Linked DNA regions of Homo sapiens: region 1 is linked to region 2. The links are contacts of gene promoters, found by promoter capture Hi-C in human tissues and cell types (Jung and others, 2019). All regions are on one chromosome and are shown on one strand. Each heading gives the region's core, a stretch centred on a gene start or on the middle of the fragment in contact. The rest is flanking DNA. Distances are from core to core; before and after follow the strand shown. Region 1 has its middle 40 kb from the start of TFAP2B. Region 2 holds the start of TFAP2D (transcription factor AP-2 delta).

Region 1 (4,738 bases), core at 2,037-4,536, 66 kb after region 2:
TTAATGAAAATTCAATTACTCTGTTTCTTCTCTGGAAAGATCAGAGCAATGCAAAAATGCCCAATCGATTCTTCTTCTGCCTTCTTTTTAGATGCCTTAAAAATAGAGATAATCCTTCCTGGCTTTTCAGTTCCTTTTTTTCCCATTTTTTGAGAGTATGTTCTCTTCAATGTCTAGAACAAAATATGACCCTTTGGGACCTATGAGTACCTTGATCCAAGTGTGACAGTGATAAGAGTTCAGCCCTCTGTCATGTAGTGCTTTTAAGATAAATGTGTCAATAAACTATTCTTGTTAATAATGAGTAAGGTAATACAAAACATTTTCCTGTATTTTCTTGCTTCTATGCCTCTTTGGAAGCATTTTAGAGCAGTGGAATTTAAAATATATATATATATATATATACACACACACACATACATATTTGAATTCTTTACACAATGAGTGTGCCATCTCCTTACAAAAACCAAGTCAGTATGTGAGAGGTGTCATGACCTATAGTGTCTAAGAGTATGGACTAGAAAGCCAAACTATCTGGTTCAAATCAAGGCTCTCTTACTTGCTACTGCCTGACTCTGAGCAAGTTGCCACACCTCTCTGTGCCTCCTCCATTTTCCCATCTGTAAAATGAGGATGATAATAGATACCTACTCACAGAATTACTGTCAGAATCAAAGACTTGGTGTATCTAAACTGTTTAGAGCAGAAAAGGGGCATGTTAGTGCTATGTGAATATTAGCTACTGTCTTTAATACTTAGAATTTGGACAAATCATTTTTTATCTAGAGATCAGTTTGTCTTCAGCTTATTGTACCCTTTCTATGCCAGACTTCGTCCTAGAGACTGAAGATACAGAGTGGAATAGAATATTTTTATTGATGTCAAGCTTCTCATATTCTCCTATGAAGATAATAGCCATTAGAATATGGTATGTGTCATGATGAAAATACACACAGGGTGCCCAGCACAAGCCAGACCAGGATCTAGGAAACAGGAGATGGGGGGAGATGGGAGAGTGAAAAATTGAGGAGGAGAGTTGTGATCAGGGAAATGGGAAGCTAGAGATCGGGAAAAAGGGCTTTAGGATTCTAGGAGACTTAAAAACATTTGGGGCAGTAAGCTATTTTGAAAACTAACAGACACACCTTGTATTTCTGGTTATTCCTACCTTCCTTCCACATTTTGGGGCAGCTAACATGTTGCCTGCACTGCCTCAGGGAAGGAATGTGACCCAGAAGAATGGAGGCAACAAAAGTTTTAAAGAAACTTTCATAAAAATTTTCAGTTTCAAAATCTTAGGCTCTAGAGGGGACTTGAGATTTAAAAGCATCTCAGTCAGGACCTTATTACTTCCACCCGCTCCGAAACCTCCCCCACAACACCACACACACTGGAGACCAGAAAATAATCCATAGGTTGGGGAAAGAACAAAGAAGAAGGAGTTTTTTTTGTTGTTGTTTGCTTGTTTTTTGAGATGGCGTCTTGCTCTGTCGCCCAGGCTAGAGACGGTGGCACAATCTCGACTTATTGCAACCTCCGCTTCTTGGGTTCAAGCGATTCTCCTGCCTCAACCTCCTGAGTAGCTGGGATTACAGGTATGTGCCACCACGCCCAGCTAATTTTTGTATTTTTAGTAGAGATGGGGTTTTGCCATGTTGGCCAGGCTGCTCTTGAATTCCTGACTTCAGGTGATCCACCCACCTCGGCCTCCCAAAGTGCTAGGATTACAGGCATGAGGCACTGCGCCCGGCCAAAGGATAATTGTTTAAAGCTTAGTGTAGCATTGCATCTCTGAGATAGGGCCATGTCCTGGGGGTGAGGTTGGGGTGTGAATCTTGTTATAGAGGTGGAATTATGTCCTCATCCCAGAGAAAAGCCCAGCGGAGGAAGAAAGCCCAGCACAGTACAGAAGCAAAGAGCTGTCTATGTGATGTGCATCTAGGCAGGTGGCACTCAGACAGACTCACATTTCTCCTAAGGAGTTTATTTCAAGATGGCAGGGACAGACTAGCATGATGTGGATGCAAGAGGAACAAAGGAAGCAGCACTTGAATATTTCAGGTTCACCCAAGAGCAATCCAGATAGCTGGCAAGTATGCAGATTCCTCATAGGTTGAACATAAGGACACACAAGAAAAACCTGAGACATGCCAATCAAAGACTAGATAGGAATTCAGACCTTCCCCCTACTCAGGGATTTCAAAGAGAATGAGTTAAACAAGTGTTAGAAGGCCGAAAGAGCAAAAATGAGACACTGAGTCACCCAAATGCTCGTAATTGAAAAAGCAGCTACCATCCCCAGAAATGGGGAAACAAAAGTAAGGAAGTAAAGTTACGTGAATGTAGGAACTTTGAAGCAAGCACACCCCTACCCATGGGTGTTGCTTGAACCTCTCTCTGAGAGAACCCACCTCAAGATTAATGCTGGCAGATTTTTTGAGAGGGTAGAGCGTCCTAATTCTGGGAGTGCAAAAGAAGCTGGAAGCTGGAGCCTTAACCTACCTCTTCTGCTGGAAGGATGATAGCAGGAACTGGAAATATGCTGGAACATCCTTTCCCCCCTTTCTTCCTTCCTTCCACTTCCCATCTGTGCCCCATTGCAGAACCAAATTAGAATCCAGCTTGCAAAGGGTTATGAGAAATGTAGTTGGCAGACTTCCAGGCCTAGCATCACAAAATACAGAAGCCAGCATCAACAGATGAAGACCTAGGCCAGATGTTCCTCCATGTCTGGTGCTACATAAGCCCTCCCCATGAAACCCTGGGACACATATGTAACCCAGGAAGACCCTGAGTGTACTGAGAGCTAATTTCTGCCACATTTCCAAATGAAGGCTCAAAAATAGAAATTAAGTCACATTATAGAAAATAAAGTGACATTTTTCATATAGCCAAATTGGCAGACACACCTACTACACAAGTAAATTATCTATTTCAGCTACTTCCCATTTGCATCATAATTTAATAAGACCAAGACACTTAAGAAAAATTGAAATAACTAAATAAATCCCCATAAGAGTCAGAAGAAAAAAGTTTAATGTGGCCATGTTGGTTATTGCCAGTTAGAACCTATTGTAAGTTTTCAAAGCTATTCTTTAATATTGCATTTCCTTAATTTTTTTATATCAAGAGCTATTTGGAAAACAGGCACAGAGGTATGATATAAATTTATGTTTAGTCTTCCTTCCAAGTTGAGTCATGATGTCTTACTGTCAATAAAACCTAACTGTGGGTTTAAATATTGTCTTTTGTTTTCTCACCATCAGCGTTCTCCCTGGGCAACATAATGTTCTACCATAATTTCAATTACATGTCTTTTCTCATGGCAGAGACCAATTGTCATCTAACAAAGTCCAGTTTTCCTTTGTCCTGCCGTATATTCCCATATGAGAGATTGGCAATTTTTTTTAAATAAAGGGCCCAATAGTAAATATTTTAGTCTATGCAGGCCATGTGGTCTCTGTTGCAACTACTCAACTCTGCTGATGTAGCATGAAAGTAGCTATAGACAATATGTAAACAAACGGCCATGACTGTGTTCTGATAAATCATCATTTACAAAAGTAGGCAGCGGATTGGATTATTCCTGAGGGCCATAGTTTGCCAATCTCTGACCTAGACTAAACTTCTTGTTGTTTGCAGCCATGCGATTAAGTTATCTCCAGAGGAAGAGTGGGAGTGATACTTGCTACTTCCAGGATTTACCAGTAAAAATCAGTCATGCACTTTTCTCTGTGTTCTGTCCTCTTCTACATGAGTTATATGATAAAGTTCAGAGCAAGGATTCTCCACCTTGGCACTATTGATAAAGAATTATCTGGCACATTTGGGGCCAGATAATTCTTTATTATGAGAGCTATCTTGTGTGCTGCAGGATGTTTAGTAGATTTTTGGTTTCTATGCAGTAGACTTCAGTAGCATCCCTCACAATTATAAGGAGCCAAATTATCTCCAAACATTGCTAAATCACTCACAGTTGACAGCCACTGTTTTACAGATGGCAGAGACACAAGATAGAGAGTACCTGGATCCCGGAATGGCCACATGGAGAAGAAGCACACATTATTTTGACCTAAACATATATTATTTTAAGCCACTGAAATTGGGATGAGGGAGGCTGGGAGGGTGTATTTACTACTGTAGCTTGCCTGTCTTGGCACAATGCTAATGAATTATAAATCCATAATATTCTTCCGCACTCCAGATCCATGTTGTCCATTTTCAATGGTTATTATCATCTTATGAAAAATAGCATCTTCGAACTCAACACACATTAAAATATGGAATCCTAATCAACCTCCCTCAACTAATTACACATCCCAAATTTTCTATGTTTGCTAAAGACAACTCCATACAGTTGCGCAAGACAGAAACTTGTGAACCATCTTAACTATCCTTATCTCTATCCTCTCTTACAGTTAATCACTAGATTCTGATAAATTAATATAAAAATATTATAATAAATTAACTTGGCTGGGTGCGGTGGCTTACGCCTGTAATCCCAGCACTTTGGGAGGTCAAGGCATGGGGATTGCCTGAGTTCAGGAGTTCGAAACCAGCCAAGGCAACATGGCAAAACTCCATCTCAACTAAAAATACAAAAAATTAGCTGAGTGTGGTGGTGATTGCCTGTAATCTGGGCTACTCGGGAGACTGAGGCACAAGAATCGCTTGAACCTGGGAGGCAGAGGTTGCAGTGAGCCGAGATCACGCCACTGCCCTCTAGCCTGGGTGACAG
Region 2 (4,714 bases), core at 1,258-3,757:
GGGGTGTCTGACAGAAATGAACGCTACACACACACACATCACATCACACACACACACACACACACAGGCACCAAACACACCACACACCTGCCTCAATGAGTTTCTTTAGAAAAGGGGCGCGCTGAGCAACCCCAGAGCAGATGGAAGGGAGCGCTGACCAATATGTGCATATGGCATGGATGATTTCCTCAACTTTGTTTCTTTCAGGGGAAAACAGCTTTTTTATTTTTTTAAGTTGGAATGAAGTGGGAGGGAGCAGTTGGCCAAATGAAGTTTCCCTGCAGTTCAGATGCTGGTGTGGGAAGCCAAGACATAGGGTTAAGAGGGATGCTTTCTAAGGTAGTCAAGGGCCCTGGCAAGGGAAATCTCAAAACTAAAAGAGAGCCATTTTATCCTTCCTGCTTCATTTTCCTTAAGTACAAATGAAAGGGTCTTTTCTCACTCTTCAGGATCTTTAGTTTCCCCTCATGTCCACAAGAGTTCAACAAGCATGTAAGTTAAACCCTGGACACTCTTTGTTTGGATACCTAAAAGTCACTCAGGAAAGTGAACCATGAAAGTGGGGTTAGGGGGTGGAATGCGATGATTGCCAGTTAGTTGGTGATGTCCTGATGTTCACAGGGTCCAGGCTACTGGAGGTCATTCCATGGGGTGTACTCAGTTCAAGGCCAGAGCTCATTACCGAGAGTATCATAAAGCTATATCTTCTGAGTGCGGTGGCAGGGGTGAGGGGGGCTATGTGTGGCTCTTATTCCAGACAGGGACAAACATGTGGAACAAACACTCTGGGCCAGCAGGCAGAGCAGGCGGCCACATCTTCCTGAGCTTCCTCATTGTTGTTCCCCGGGGAGAGGGTTTTGTGTCTGCTGCCTGGACCTAAACTGGGAAGAGAAGGTACCGTCACCTTCAATGAAGGTGTATCTGACAGTAGGGGTGTTGGAAAGGAGATTGCAACATGTCTGAGAAGGGCTATCCTCTTCCATTTGACCGGGACTAACTGGGAAGCCAATATCATCCACCAGGAAAAGCGCACCTGGGCATTCCCCAAGATAACCTGCAAGTCCTACATATTCTTCCAGGGAATGGTCTGCACTTTCCCAGGGGCAGGGGTGCCTGAGTTAAGGTCGTGGGGGCAGTCTCCATCTCCCAGAGATGATTAGTTATTTTCTCCGTGGGTAAGCTATGGAGGCCCCACTCAGACCTGGTAAACAAAGACTCCACTGCAAACATTTTTGGGATTCAACCCCTAGAGCCAACAGCACTCATTTTACCCCTTTTACTTAAAGATTAAGTTGGATATTCTTCCTTTTTGTCATCATTGGTCTCTCAGTCTCCTTACTTCATTAGGCCAAAATATGGAATTTCAAGGAGGGGTGGGAGGGGGGCAGCACTGGCACACCTTGAAATAGGGAACAAGTGTTGGCTGCTGACCCCATGTGGGGCTGAAGAATCGTGTATCTCCATTTCAGACAATGCATTTCAATTCTTGTCGTGTGCCTTTGTCCATTTGTATAAAGCAAAGAGCTCTGAGTGACAGCCCCAGTTAGCCTGCATGAGCAGATCCTAATAAACCCTCCCAAACCCCAACCTAAAAAAAAAAAAAGCCACATGCCTGTTTGCCTGAGGCTTATTATTAAGACACCTTCTCAGCTTAAACACTTAAAAGCAAACCAAATGAAATGGCAATTAAGACTGAATTACCCCTTCTATCTATGAGATGAGTCTGTGGGGCCAGCCAGTTCTTTCTTATAATGTAGACACTGAGGAGCAAAGCCTCAGTATTTCAGGTTTATAGCTACCACCACCCCCTCCAGGCACTAAACAACTTGGTGGAGGAAGCTGAATTTTGAAGGAAGGAAAGCTCAAAAACTGTTTGAAAGTCAAGAAATCCACTGAAGAGATGGAAATATGTGTGCACTGCTTCCTTCCTGCCCTCTATTTATAAAATATAACTTCCAAGCATTTAAGGGTTATTTTGGGGGTAATAGTGTTCAAAAACCTAATGCTACTGCTGAACGGTCTACACCCCACCACCACCAGCAGTGTTTCCAAAAGGGAAGAAGAAAAACACAAAAGAGGGGGGATATGGTTTGGTTTGGGGAGTGAAAGACAACAGTTTACCTAAATGTAGAATCTTGTCTTACATCTTTATTCCCTTGCATTTTTCCTAAATGCATTGCCAGTTACACCATTTCCTGATGATGGAAACTTGGGACTGTCCATCACCATTATTTATTTTTAAAGCTGCTGAAAAGTGTAAGCCACCGCTTGATTTTGCCTTTCAAAAAAGGGGAAAGAACCCAAATTCAATGTAAATATGGAAAGACCAGCATTGTTTCCACTTGGGCGAAGGCAGACACCCCAATCTGGGCAAAATTGATTCGGGTGGTTGTTGGAAAAAGCAGCTTTCAGCATCCAGGGAGTGGAACCAATAGGAATGAACACTTCCCCATATAAAAGGAAGCTTTAATTAATATATATTTCTATCTCTAATATACATATATTGGAGCTAGAGCTCTAGCTTCACAATAAAATGTGTGCAAATACTCTCCACAGAGATAAGTCCCCACCTCAGTCGGTATAGAAAAGCATGATAAAGGTTGGAAAAAATGGATAAAAATGTTGAAAGAACCTCCAGTTCCTTATTAGGCGAAGATACAATATTTATTCCTTGTCTCCTGGGATAAATCTCTTCTGCCTATTGTCCTCCCAGTTCTCAGTGCTGATGCTTAATTTTCAAAACTTCTATATTACCAAGGGACCTACGACATCAGCCAAAGAAATACTCAGCAAGTACAAAATCTGTTCCAGGGAGCTGCTTTTGTGCAGAGGGAAAATTTTGTTCCTACAGGTTTTTAAGTGGGTACGAGGCAAGGAGCTATCTGATCCGGGCAAAACCATTACAATTTAGATATCTACCTATAGAACATTTTTTTTTTCCTTTAAAAATTGGAAAATACAAGAAGTTTGGATTTTTTTTTCCCGATTCTTTTTTTGGAGGGGGAAATTGCATCGTAAGCTTTCGGAGAAACCCAACATGTCAACTACCTTTCCGGGACTAGTCCACGATGCCGAGGTATTATTACTTTTTTTTTTTTTTTTTTTTGAGCGCGCGTGTGTGTGGCGGCGGCGGCGGTGGCGGCGGTGGCGGCGGCGGTGGCAGCCTCCCCTGTCTCTAATCTATATTGGACCGTTACGTTTAATTATAATCTGTCTTTCGGGGGAAGTTAAGGAAGGAAAGGGGAGAAAGTTCGTTATGACATCTGTCGCCAGGGAGGGCAACTCTCTGCCACGTTAAGAAACATTTGCCATAATGAGCGGGAAAACATAATCTTAATAATAAAAGGGGGGAGTGAAGAGAAAGAGATAGAGACGGAAAGAAAGATTCTCAGAAAAGCAAAGAAAAGGGACTGGTGGGGAAGCAGTAGATGCACAAGGGGGATGGGGAAAACGCACCCCTTTTGGAATGGGCTTATTCAAGGAAAGGGAAGCAGAAAAGAGGGAGTCGGATTCCCTCCCTCGAATGACTAAGGAAGGGAGCAAGTTGAACGATTTGCACAGACTGGATTTTTTAAAATATATGGACAATGATTTTGAGCAGCCCGGGCCGAACATCTCGGCATAGACAGGCGCAGAATTTCGATGCTGGGGTCTAGTTAGAGTGGCAAGGCGCCCCGGGCCAGCGCTCTTTTCGGGTGGACTCGTTCCTCTGCTACCCGCGGCCCCGGAGTCAGTTGCAAACCTGGATCCCAACGCCAAGCTCCCTGCACAAGTTGGGCAGGGGCTGTGTGTGTGTCTGTGTGTGTGTGTCTGTGCGTGTGTGTGCGTGTGTGGTGTCACCCGCACCTATATAGGGTGGGGGATTTTTTTTCCGCTCTCTCGACTGTGAGGACGAGGCCGCCCACCCCCAGTTCGCCTGTTTGCAAAGGCTCTCTGGTGAAGACGCTGAGACCCGGCTTCGGCTCGGCCCGAGTCCTACGCGCTCGCTTTCCTTGGAGTGCCAGAGAAAGCTCCTGGCTCCGGGAGAGCGGCGCCTTGGTTGCAAAATGACAAACCTCAAGTTTTTCTGCTCTCCCTTTTCCCCCTCTTCCTTCCAGATACGTCACGACGGATCAAACAGCTACCGTTTGATGCAGCTTGGCTGTCTGGAGTCAGTAGCCAATTCCACTGTCGCCTATTCCTCCTCCTCTCCTTTAACTTACTCCACCACCGGCACCGAGTTTGCGTCCCCCTACTTCTCCACTAACCACCAGTACACCCCGCTCCACCACCAGTCCTTCCATTACGAGTTTCAGCACAGCCACCCGGCCGTCACCCCCGACGCCTACTCTCTGAACTCTCTCCACCACTCGCAACAGTACTACCAGCAGATCCACCACGGGGAGCCCACCGACTTTATTAACCTGCACAATGCGCGGGCGCTCAAGTCGTCCTGCCTGGACGAGCAGAGGCGGGAGCTGGGCTGCCTCGATGCCTACCGCCGCCATGACCTGTCCCTCATGAGCCATGGCTCTCAGTATGGAATGCACCCAGATCAAAGACTCCTGCCAGGGCCCAGCCTGGGGCTGGCCGCCGCGGGAGCAGACGACTTGCAGGTAAATAAGCATGCAGCGAATTTGTCTGCTCCCTCCCCTCTTCGCCCTCCCCCTGCCGCCCCATTAATGCTCCGACTGTAAAGCGTCTCTCTTTCTCTCTCTCTTCTCCTCTCTCTCTC

What was found. Contacts are between HindIII fragments. The study calls those that stand out against the background at their distance.
Region 1: a contact is called between a fragment that was not itself captured here and the fragment with the promoter of TFAP2D in region 2, in 3 of the 25 tissues and cell types used here (adrenal gland, neural progenitor cells and stomach).

What each region holds. Positions count from the first base shown.
Region 1 is chr6:50,776,231-50,780,968 of GRCh38, forward strand. No RefSeq gene overlaps it. Among named protein-coding and RNA genes, the nearest start is that of TFAP2B, 40 kb to the right of the region's middle. RefSeq lists a silencer at 3,632-3,832. The HindIII fragment of the contact is 3,917 bases long and covers 1,329-4,738 here.
Region 2 is chr6:50,711,019-50,715,732 of GRCh38, forward strand. TFAP2D (transcription factor AP-2 delta) reads left to right here and starts at 2,508. Exons shown (of 8, transcript NM_172238.4): 1 at 2,508-3,076; 2 at 4,098-4,595. The coding sequence starts at 3,038. RefSeq lists an enhancer at 4,242-4,714. The HindIII fragment of the contact is 8,496 bases long and covers 1-4,076 here.